Linked DNA regions of Homo sapiens: region 1 is linked to region 2. The links are contacts of gene promoters, found by promoter capture Hi-C in human tissues and cell types (Jung and others, 2019). All regions are on one chromosome and are shown on one strand. Each heading gives the region's core, a stretch centred on a gene start or on the middle of the fragment in contact. The rest is flanking DNA. Distances are from core to core; before and after follow the strand shown. Region 1 overlaps SLC12A1 (solute carrier family 12 member 1). Region 2 holds the start of SLC24A5 (solute carrier family 24 member 5).

Region 1 (4,956 bases), core at 1,212-3,711, 180 kb before region 2:
TAAAAACACAAAAGTTAACCGAGCTGTCGGCACATGCTTATAATTCCAGCTATTCAGGAGACTGAGGCAGGAGACTCACTTGATCCCGGGAGGCAGAGCTTGCAGTAGGCAGAAATTGTGCCACTGCACTCCAGCCTGGGCAACAAGAGTGAAACTCCATCTTAAAAAAAAAAAAAAAAAAAAAAAAATCAAAAATTGGCTTTCTGGGACTGTCCTTTTGTTTCCAACAATTTTTTGTATTATTTATGTCAATACTATGCTATTTGTTTACAGAATGCTGCATTATTATTATAGCTACATTGTGGCTATATCTATTTTATAAATATAAAATGATACTCTCCTGTCATTCCTAATTCTTTTAGTCTTAAACTTTGAAGTTAATATTGTCAACTCTATTCCTTTTGCTTAAATGTTTGTGTATATTTTTGTTTATTCTTTTGCTTTTAGCCTTTTTTTTTCACTTCCACTTGTGGACTTTTAGCCTTTTTATATTTAATTCTGAATATAATGCTTGCAGATAGAATAGAGTTTGATTTTTTCATTAAATTTGAGAGTCATTTTGTTAATAAGAAAGATGAACACATTTGTGTTTTCTATTTGTTTCTTGCATGTTTGATTTTTCTTCTATTGTAGGATTCTATTATTGTATAATTTCTCTCTTTTTTAAGTAATATTTTTTTACTCTTCTCTTTTGGATTATTTTTAATGTTTTTATGCTCTTTATGTATTGGGATTTACACACAATGTTGTTGTTTTCTTTTCTGATGCCTCTGCCAAAGGCATCCATGAGATGCTGCATAGCAATGCCCACCAAGCATACCATGCAACCTCTCAGGGAAGCTGTTCTGAATACTTGCAGTATCCAACACAATGGGTCCTAAGGAAGGTGCTCCACCCTGTCCTACTGCCTATTCTCACTTCCAGCTTCAAATTGCGGGGAAGGATTATTGGAATTCTCCCAGGGTCTCCTGCAATTATTCCCTAAGATTTTTTTTTCCCCAGGAGCATTGATTGTAAGCTGATCTTTGATTGCTTCCATCAGTCTCCACCCATGTAAACTATAGCATGATTTTATTTCTAAATAAATTACCATGTGAATGGCATCCTTTCTTAGTTTTCTGCTGTGATGCAGATTTTCTTCTGTTTTTTAAAAATTTTATTTTTTTTTTTTGAGACGAAGTTTCACTCTGTTGCCCAGGCTGGAGTGCAGTGGCGTGATCTCGGCTGTTTCAGGGGAGACCTGATACGCATTGAGAAAGATAATTAGATAGGCTGGGCGCAGTGGCTCACACTTGTAATCCTAGCGCTTTGGGAGGCCAAGGCGAGCAGATCACCTGAGGTCAGGCGTTCGAGACCAGCCTGGCCAACATGGCAAACCCCCTCTCTACTAAAAATACAAAAATTAGCCAGGTGCCTCTAATCACAGCTACTCAGGAGGCTGAGGCATGAGAATTGCTTGAACCTGGGAGGTGGAGGTTTCAGGGACCCGAGATTGTGCCATGGCACTCCAGCCTGGGTGACAAAGTGAGACTCCATGTCAAAAAAAAAAGAGAGAGAGAAAGAGAATTAGATGCCATTCCTCCAGTGTATGTGTGTGTGTTTTACAAAAGTCTGGTCAATCTGCATTTAGGGTAGGACACCTAGAGAGAAACATCAAGACAATTAGTGTTTAAATATATGGATCTGAGACTTAGAAGAGATCTGAGTTAAAAATGTAAATTCAGGAGACACCAACATGTAGTGGAAATCAAATCATGGAAATGGGAGGGACTGCCCTCAAAGCACTAGTTCCAAAATCTTGCAGATCATCAGAACATACAGGTCCCTCAGTCCCACTCCCAGAGATTCTAATTTACCAGGGTTATGGTGGTCCCCAAGAATTTATACTCTCTTTTTAAAGTTTCCATCAATGGCCTGGTATGGTGACTCATGCTTGCAATCCCAGCACTTTGGAAGGCCAAGGCGGGAGGATTGCTTGAGGCCAGGAGTTCAAGAGCAGCTTGGGCAATATAGTGAGCTCCTGTCTCTACAAAAAAATTTTAAAAGGTTAGCCAGGTGTGGTGGCGTATGAATGTAGTCCTAGCTATTCAGGAAGTAGAGGTGAGAGAATTGTTTGAGCCCAGGAGTTTGAGATTATGGCGAGCTATAATTGCACCACTACACTCCATCCTGGGTGAGAGAGCCAGACTTTGTCTCTAAATAATAATAATAATTATAATAAATAAAGCTTCCATTGAAATATTTCTAAAATTGAGTGTTAAGTAAAAAACTCATAGGACAATGCTCCCAGTATGGCACTATCTATGAAAGAAATTTTATGTCTATGAATATGTCTATATTTGTGGGGATGGGAGCAGAGACAGCAACTGAAAAAGTGATGGTGAAGTCATGGTGAGGAAAGGGTGGGGACGCTGTTGAGAAACATGCACAAAGTGAGGAGACAGAGACAGTTGGACACCAATGCACATGACTGTGGAATGTTCTCCTTCTTGCTCAGAAACCTGAGTGTAGACATGGACATGATGGGTGGCTGGATCAATAGAGTTGGGTGAAGAAAAGGACAACAGCAGGGCACCAAGGGCTGGATAAATCTGCTGCTATGTGACTGTAGCCCCTATCCTTTTAACTTTCTGCCCTCCGAATTTATTCCCAATACAGTTGCTCTTGACCTCAAGATCTCTAGTACCTTAGAGCCACCCAACCCTTAACCTGGAATCCAAGGGCTATACTCAGCCATCTTCTTGCTACTAGCCCTCTGGAAATTCAGTAACTCGGTTTCTACTACTTTATATGGTCCCTTCGGTACTACCCAGACCTTGTTTAATGAAGAGCTTGTTGCCCTAACAGCTAGGAGTGCTGTCAGCACATAGACTTTCCCTGCCAGGCCCTTGGGGGATTGCCTCTGCTGCACAGAGCTGCCCCATGCACCCCCCTGCCCCAGAGGTCACACCTCTTCCCAGGCAGCCCCCATGCAATAACTGATAAAAGCAGAGTACAAAAGCCTGGCCCTTTCTGCCCTGCTTGGGATGACTCTCTGTAGGGTCAGCAGAGGCTGTCGTTGGGCCTGCATCCCAGCTCACTGCTTACCTCTATGTTTGCTGTTTCTTCCCCTCCTTCCCTCAGGTGTTGATCCCCAGGGGATCATGCTAAACTTTGTCTCAGAGTCTGTTTCCCAAGGAGCCCAACTTGCAGCAGCCGGGAAAGAAACAAGAGCCAGAATGTCCTGTTAAAGAAGTCATATTACTTCTCACCTTTCCCAGAGACCCTCAAGTATTTCAGAGAAGTGTCAGGCCCACATGAAGCTGAGTTTAGGCATTTGGATTTCAGGTCCATAGTGCTCAAGAGAAAGGGTTTTATCAAGGGCAGAGTTAAGCACAGTGGCCCTGGATTTGGAATAGGAATATCCAGCTGCCTAAGCTTTGCTGATGGTCTCCCTTATTCTCTGGTCATCCTTCTGAGCAGAGAGGCTGGGTTAGGAAGTCCTGATCTTGAATCCTAGCTTTAAGCAGCTGCAGATGAGGCCACTGACTGAAATCTTCAGGCTCACATCTGATACACCATTGCACCACAATTTTAGTGACTGAAAGTAAAAACATGACCTAGGCCAAAGCAATTGAATTTGAGTGCTTTTATTTCAGGTTCATATTTTCCCATATATGTTTTCAGTTAGAATGAACAGTCAAAACATGTCAAGGAGAAAAATCAAGCCATTCATCAGAAAATCAATATTTTCATTGGTTTGTCAATGTGATTATGTATTATAGGTATACTAACAAAAATGAAAAAAATCAGTATCTGTATATTCCAAATTTTACAAGTTTTTCAACTTCACATTTTAATTATTCTTTTAAATCCATACAATCACTATAGAAAGTAACTAAATATATGATTCAGGATATATTTCTTAATAATGGTTTGAAAATTTGTAGCACTTAGTTTTCAAGTAGTCATCTATAAAGATTTCATCTGTACTAACCATTTAATTAGAAAAAAATATGCAAAGTAATGCCGTGATGGAAATTTCAAAATATTTGATAGGGAGTACAATTAAAGTTTATATATTGAGAATAGAATATATTTCATTTTATTGGAGTATATGGTGTCTTCTAATCTAGTTAATATACTTTTCAGGCAGCAGCAAATTTAAGCCATATGTTATCAATGATTGCTCAGATCACTTTAAGTATATAATCTGTTACATTAAATAACCTTATTTAGGTAACTGCTTTGAATATTTTGTAGACTCAACTACTTCTTAAAGTTTTGAGTTACTGATTTTTAAATCTGCTTTGGAGGTATAAGCCTCTGAGGGGGCCAAGCATAATTATGTTCCCCAGCCTATTGGTCTTTTCCTTTGATAACCACCTGTGGTTACTATGCCAGCCTGTCAATAAGCATTTATTGAGATCCTGCTGTGGGGCTGAGACCTATACCAGGGCTGAGAAGCAAACACTCAAAACAAAAAATTAAGAAACAAAAGGTTAAGTTTGTCTGGAGAAGTTTACAATCACATTGGTGGTTTTCATGAGCATAAGCCAACATGAGTTTCCTTGATTTTCTTGTTTATCAACAGCAGTGACAAAAATGTTTTTCTAGGGATAACATTGGCTTTGACAACCCCTTAAGCTGAGAAGAGAAAAAAAAGCTCGCATTAACTGATAAAAATTATGCAATGTATGTAGAATCTGGTAGGATCCTCTCCAGAGGTTTGCATATCCATAGATCAGATTTACAACATAAAGTACTGGAACATGTTTCTTAATTATGCATTACATTAAGTTAAAATGTATTCCAATCTTTCATGTTTTAAGAGTAAAATGTCAAGACATTTTTGTGATTTCCTCTAACTAGTAAGACAGGTGGGAGGTTCTTTGTGAGGATTTCCAACCAAGCCATATACAACAAATCCGATATGGATCCCTTTCTTGCCACGGGAAGGCTCCTAATGACATGAAG
Region 2 (4,773 bases), core at 374-2,873:
ACTGATTTTACAGTCATCTGATGTCTAAGGTCACTTAGGATACAGGACTTATTCATCTATCTGTTTATTGGTTCTTAAATATCAATTAATTTCCTTAATGGTAGGATGCTGGGAAAGGAAGATGGGGAGGGTGGTCCTTAATTGCATTTGTTTATCACTTTTTATAATCAAAGTTATAGCGAGCTTAGAGTAAAAATAAAAAAAAGTTTTTTGAAGCATAAAATGGCAAATATTAGGAGTTTCATTGTATTAGGAGCGCACACAAAGTACATACAAGTGAAATCTTGGAACAGTTCTTATAACAAACATCCAGGCAGTAGACAAACTAGAGATTTCTGGAAATAGGCAGAAAAATAATAACTGCCGGGTTCTAACTTGAAGAAACTCTGATTCACATTAACTACCAAGAGAAACCACACTCGACCAGTTCCTTAAGACACGGGACCCCACAACAAGAAGCTGGTGCTCTGCAACCAGTTGAGAAGTACAGGACAGCTGCTGAGCTATTTCAAAGACAGTCATATCTGTGTGGCACACTCTCCCAGAAGGTTACAGGGCAACTTTCCAGCCACTTACATTCACTGATGATTTCCAGGGAGGGTAGGAAGTATTCATCACAGACAATAGATATGGCCATGAACATGTAAACGATAATTAGGAAATAGATTATGATGCCTCCATCTCTGCGCTCCTGTCTCGTGAAAAACCCTTCGGGAAACTCCGATGATGGAGAAATAACACATTGGGTGCTATTTCCTGTTAAGGAAAAGGAGGTGAAAGTTTGAAGAGTTTGGAGTCACACATTCCAAGCCCACAGAGAGCTTCCTTAAGAAATCTGTAAGTGTGGGGTAACCGGGTGGAATTTTAAGGACCCACTGAAAATGTATAAAGCGCTTCTGAATATAACACAGTTGTAGAGTTTTCAAAAAATTTTTTTGGGGGACTGAAAAGAGATATCTTAATGAAATATGTTGATGATGGTGAAGAATTAAAAAGAGGAAATCATGAAATCACTCCTCCTTGTTTTTATTTCTGAATCTCTCTTCCCCAAGTAGAAACTGTATCTCTGATACATGAAGATTTCTATTGTTTATACAATTTCGTTTTCTCATTGCAGAGCCTAAATTGTTCACAGGCCTGCAAAGAATCCATCCACTGTTGCAGAGAGAATTTCTAAGATGAAAGATTTTTTGTTTTCACCAAAAAGTCTCCAAGAACAAAAACTGGAGACTTGGCCTACTATGATCTCTGTGAATTACTTTGGAGTATATTTAAGAACTTATTTGAAGGATCAAAAGTGTTTGATATCTTTTTAAATGCTAAAATTCAGAAGCGTAAGTAAAAGTGAGCCCATTGAGAATTTTCCTCTTTTTGTCCCTTCATCTGTATGTGGTAGCAGCAGCAGCAGCTGCTGCTGCAGAGCTAACTGACCCCAATGTCCACCTACCTGTGGCCCTTGGGAGACGTTGGGGCAGGGAGGTCCCTGAGAGAGGCAGATGTGCAGTGGCCCACAGGATGCCGAGCAACAGAGCCCTTCTCGCCCATGTTTGGCCCCCTTTTGTCTGCATTTCTGCTGTGCTCTTACTGCAGCGTGCAGCTTCAGGAAGGGAGAAGAGGAGGATTAAACTGGATCATGTGAGGAGTCTCCTTCCTGCCCAATACCCTGCCCAGGGCACATCTCAGCAAGGCCAGCACAGGAGAAAGGGCGAGTGTAGCCAGTCAAGCTTCTCTGATCAGGAGACCCAATCTCCAGGGAGGCCGGAGGAGACGGAGGAGAGCTGACAACCATTGTCTATAGCTATTTCCATGGCCTACAGTCTCTAAGGGCAGATTAAGGCAGCTTGTACTTTATGAAAATGTGTGGTTTTATTTAATGTCTTCATACTGGCTCTGCTTTTGACTTTCTCTAGATTTGTAAAAAGTTGGGTTTGCAACTGCTTCCCATCTCTCTCCAGCCCTTTCCCCTAGAAGTTGTTTGGGTTGATATTAATATATGTACATGCTTTGGCTAGCTCGGCATCCTTTCATATTTCTGTTTTAGCCTCTCATCTTCATCTTCAGTTAGGGCCAAAGGGAGAAAGGCCAGTTAGGGCATCATTGCAATCGTCTAGCTGAGAAATGATAGTGGCTTGAACCAAGGCTGTGGCAACGGGGATGGAGAGTAGCTGACAGTTTCAAGAATTATTGAGATGGAGTGGATGCTATTTGATCATTGATAGGCTGTGCTTTCTGCCAGAGGGAGCTATCTAAAATGCAAATTTGACGTACAAGGTAGTGTTTAAATATAGACTACTATCTTCCCTATGCTAACATTTATGAGGCTTGCCAAGATATTTAGAACTTTTGGCAGTGTAGTAACCTATAGCTAATAGCACAGGCTATGGAACCAGACCACATGATTTGAGCCCTAGCACTGCTACTTACTAGTTATGTGACTTTTGGCATGTTATTTAACCTTTCTGCTACACAGTTCTGCTATCTGTAAAACAGGGATCACCTGTATTTGGGTTGTGGTAAGAATTACAAAAATGAACGCAAATAATTTGCTCAGAACGACCTCTGGCTGACGTCTTCATTCCTTCCTTTCTTTTTCTTTGTTTTGTTTGTTTTCCTTCCTTCCTCCCTTCCTTCCTTCCTTCCTTCCTTCCTTTCTTCTCCTCCTCCTCTTTCTCTCCTTCCTTCCTTCCCTCCTTCCTTCCTTTCCTTCGTTCCTTCTTTCTTTCTTCCTTTCTTTTCTTTTCTTTTTCTTTCTTTCTTTCTTTCTTTCTTTCTTTCTTTCTTTCTTTTTCTTTCTCTTTCTTTCTTTCAATTGAAATAGAAGCGTTTTTGTTCATAAAAATTTTTGTAGTTTTGCAACTTTCATGGTTCCTTTGCTTTGCAGAAAAAACACAAAAATTGATATGCCTAGTAAGTTTTCTATTTAGAAACTAGCTTTATCTGATGGAACGGAGTAAGTTGCTTCCTGATGTTTGTGATCTTGGGTCGGAAGAAAGTCTCAAAAACTACTTTTTTTTGTGGGAATTGGTATCCATTATAAACCTCTCCAAAACTGTCATTTCTAGGAACTAGATATTCAGATGTATGGTGTGATTGTGAGGCTGTGATGATGAGTCACCAAAGCATAGCCCAGTATAGAGCAGATTCTCAACAAGCAGAGTTCCAGCTGTCTACACTCGCAGGAAGCAGCACCCTGATCACTGGGGAGTGGCCTACATGCCAGCTAGCTAAGACTAAGGGAAGAGGTCGTTTAGTTTTATGCTGAGTGGAAGTGTCTTGCGAGCCTCTCCTCTTCAACACACAGTACTTCAATCAATTCATAAAACATCATAAACAAATAAAATACCAATAATATAAAAAGCTCAAACCCAAAGTGAAAGCTTCCAATGCACATTGTCAGCTAATTCAAGAGAGAGAGCAAGTGTCTGAAGGTACGAGCCAATTGCTATGGAACAGCAGAAGTGCCTTGCACATAGTTAGTACTCCATCAACATTTGCAGATCGATTACTTTGCAATGAATGGTCTTGAAAACACATTGCCAGAACATGCATATGCTTGGTCTAAACAAATTACCATCTAAATATGGATTTACCACGAAAAGAGATTTTAGGAGATGAATTAGATTTGCTTCACACACATTCTTCATTTTGCAAAAGCATCTTAAAGATCTTTTTCTTGTAAAATAACACCCAGATAAAACTACATACATGAATAGTTTACTATATTATTATTATTTTCATAAGATGAACACCCTTGTAAACATCCAAGGTCAAGAAATAGAAATTTGCCAGCCACCCACATATACACCATGGAATACTATGCAGCCATAAAAAAGGATGAGTTCATGTCCTTTGTAGAGACATGGATGAAGCTGGAAACCATCATTCTCAGCAAACTATCGCAAGGACAAAAAACCAAACACCGCATGTTCTCCCTCATAGGTGGGAACTGAACAATGAGAACACATGGACACAGGAAGGGGAACATCACACACTGGGGACTGTTGTGGGGTGGGGGGAGGGGGGAGGGATAGCATTAGGAGATATACCTAATGTAAATGACGAGTTAATGGGTGCAGCACACCAACATGGCACATGTATACATATGTAACAAACCTGCGTGTTGTGCACATGTACCCTAGAACTTAAAGTATAATAAAAATAAGTAAATAAATAAGTTTGCCAGCCCCCCTAGAAGCCCCTTTGTGAGCCTCAGTCTCCTCTCCTCCCTTTCTCTGAAAGTAACCACTCTCCTGACTTGTAATCATTTCCTCATGTGTGTAGTTTTAATAGTCCGTGATGTAATCCAGTGCATCTTTATGATGCTATAACTTAATTTTGCCTTAAAAAGGTATCTTTTAACTTTCTTTTAGTCTATAGTCCTACCTTTTTTTTCTCTTCTGTTTCTTATAACTTGTCTCTGGGAAAAGCCCAGGGCATTTGATCTGTAGAGTTTCCTACAGTTTTGATTTTGATGACGTGTCCTTGTGATATAGTTCAATATGTTCCTGTTTTCTGCATTTTTGTAAAGTGGCAGCTGGATGCAGAGGCTTGATCAGACTCAGTCCTATCCCTCTGGCAAGGCTATAGGTGGTGGCGTGTTTGTTTACAGGAAGCACACTGTGTCTGCTCATCTCTCTTTTGTAATGTGAGCAGCAGCCACTCATGCTCATCACTCCCATTAATTAACTCCCATTAATTCTTTGGGAGTTGGGAAAGGGTGGTGTATTACTCAGGGTTCTCTAGAGGGACAGAACTAGTAGGATATATATCTAT

The links. Contacts are between HindIII fragments. The study calls those that stand out against the background at their distance.
Region 1: a contact is called between a fragment that was not itself captured here and the fragment with the promoter of SLC24A5 in region 2, in 2 of the 25 tissues and cell types used here (spleen and thymus).

What each region holds. Positions count from the first base shown.
Region 1 is chr15:48,302,736-48,307,691 of GRCh38, reverse strand. SLC12A1 (solute carrier family 12 member 1) reads right to left here. Exons shown (of 27, transcript NM_000338.3): 27 at 3,614-4,942. The coding sequence ends at 4,807. Among named protein-coding and RNA genes, the nearest start is that of DUT, 26 kb to the left of the region's middle. The HindIII fragment of the contact is 4,732 bases long and covers 96-4,827 here.
Region 2 is chr15:48,117,840-48,122,612 of GRCh38, reverse strand. SLC24A5 (solute carrier family 24 member 5) reads right to left here and starts at 1,623. Exons shown (of 9, transcript NM_205850.3): 1 at 1,448-1,623; 2 at 577-756. The coding sequence starts at 1,568. The HindIII fragment of the contact is 7,987 bases long and covers 1-2,551 here.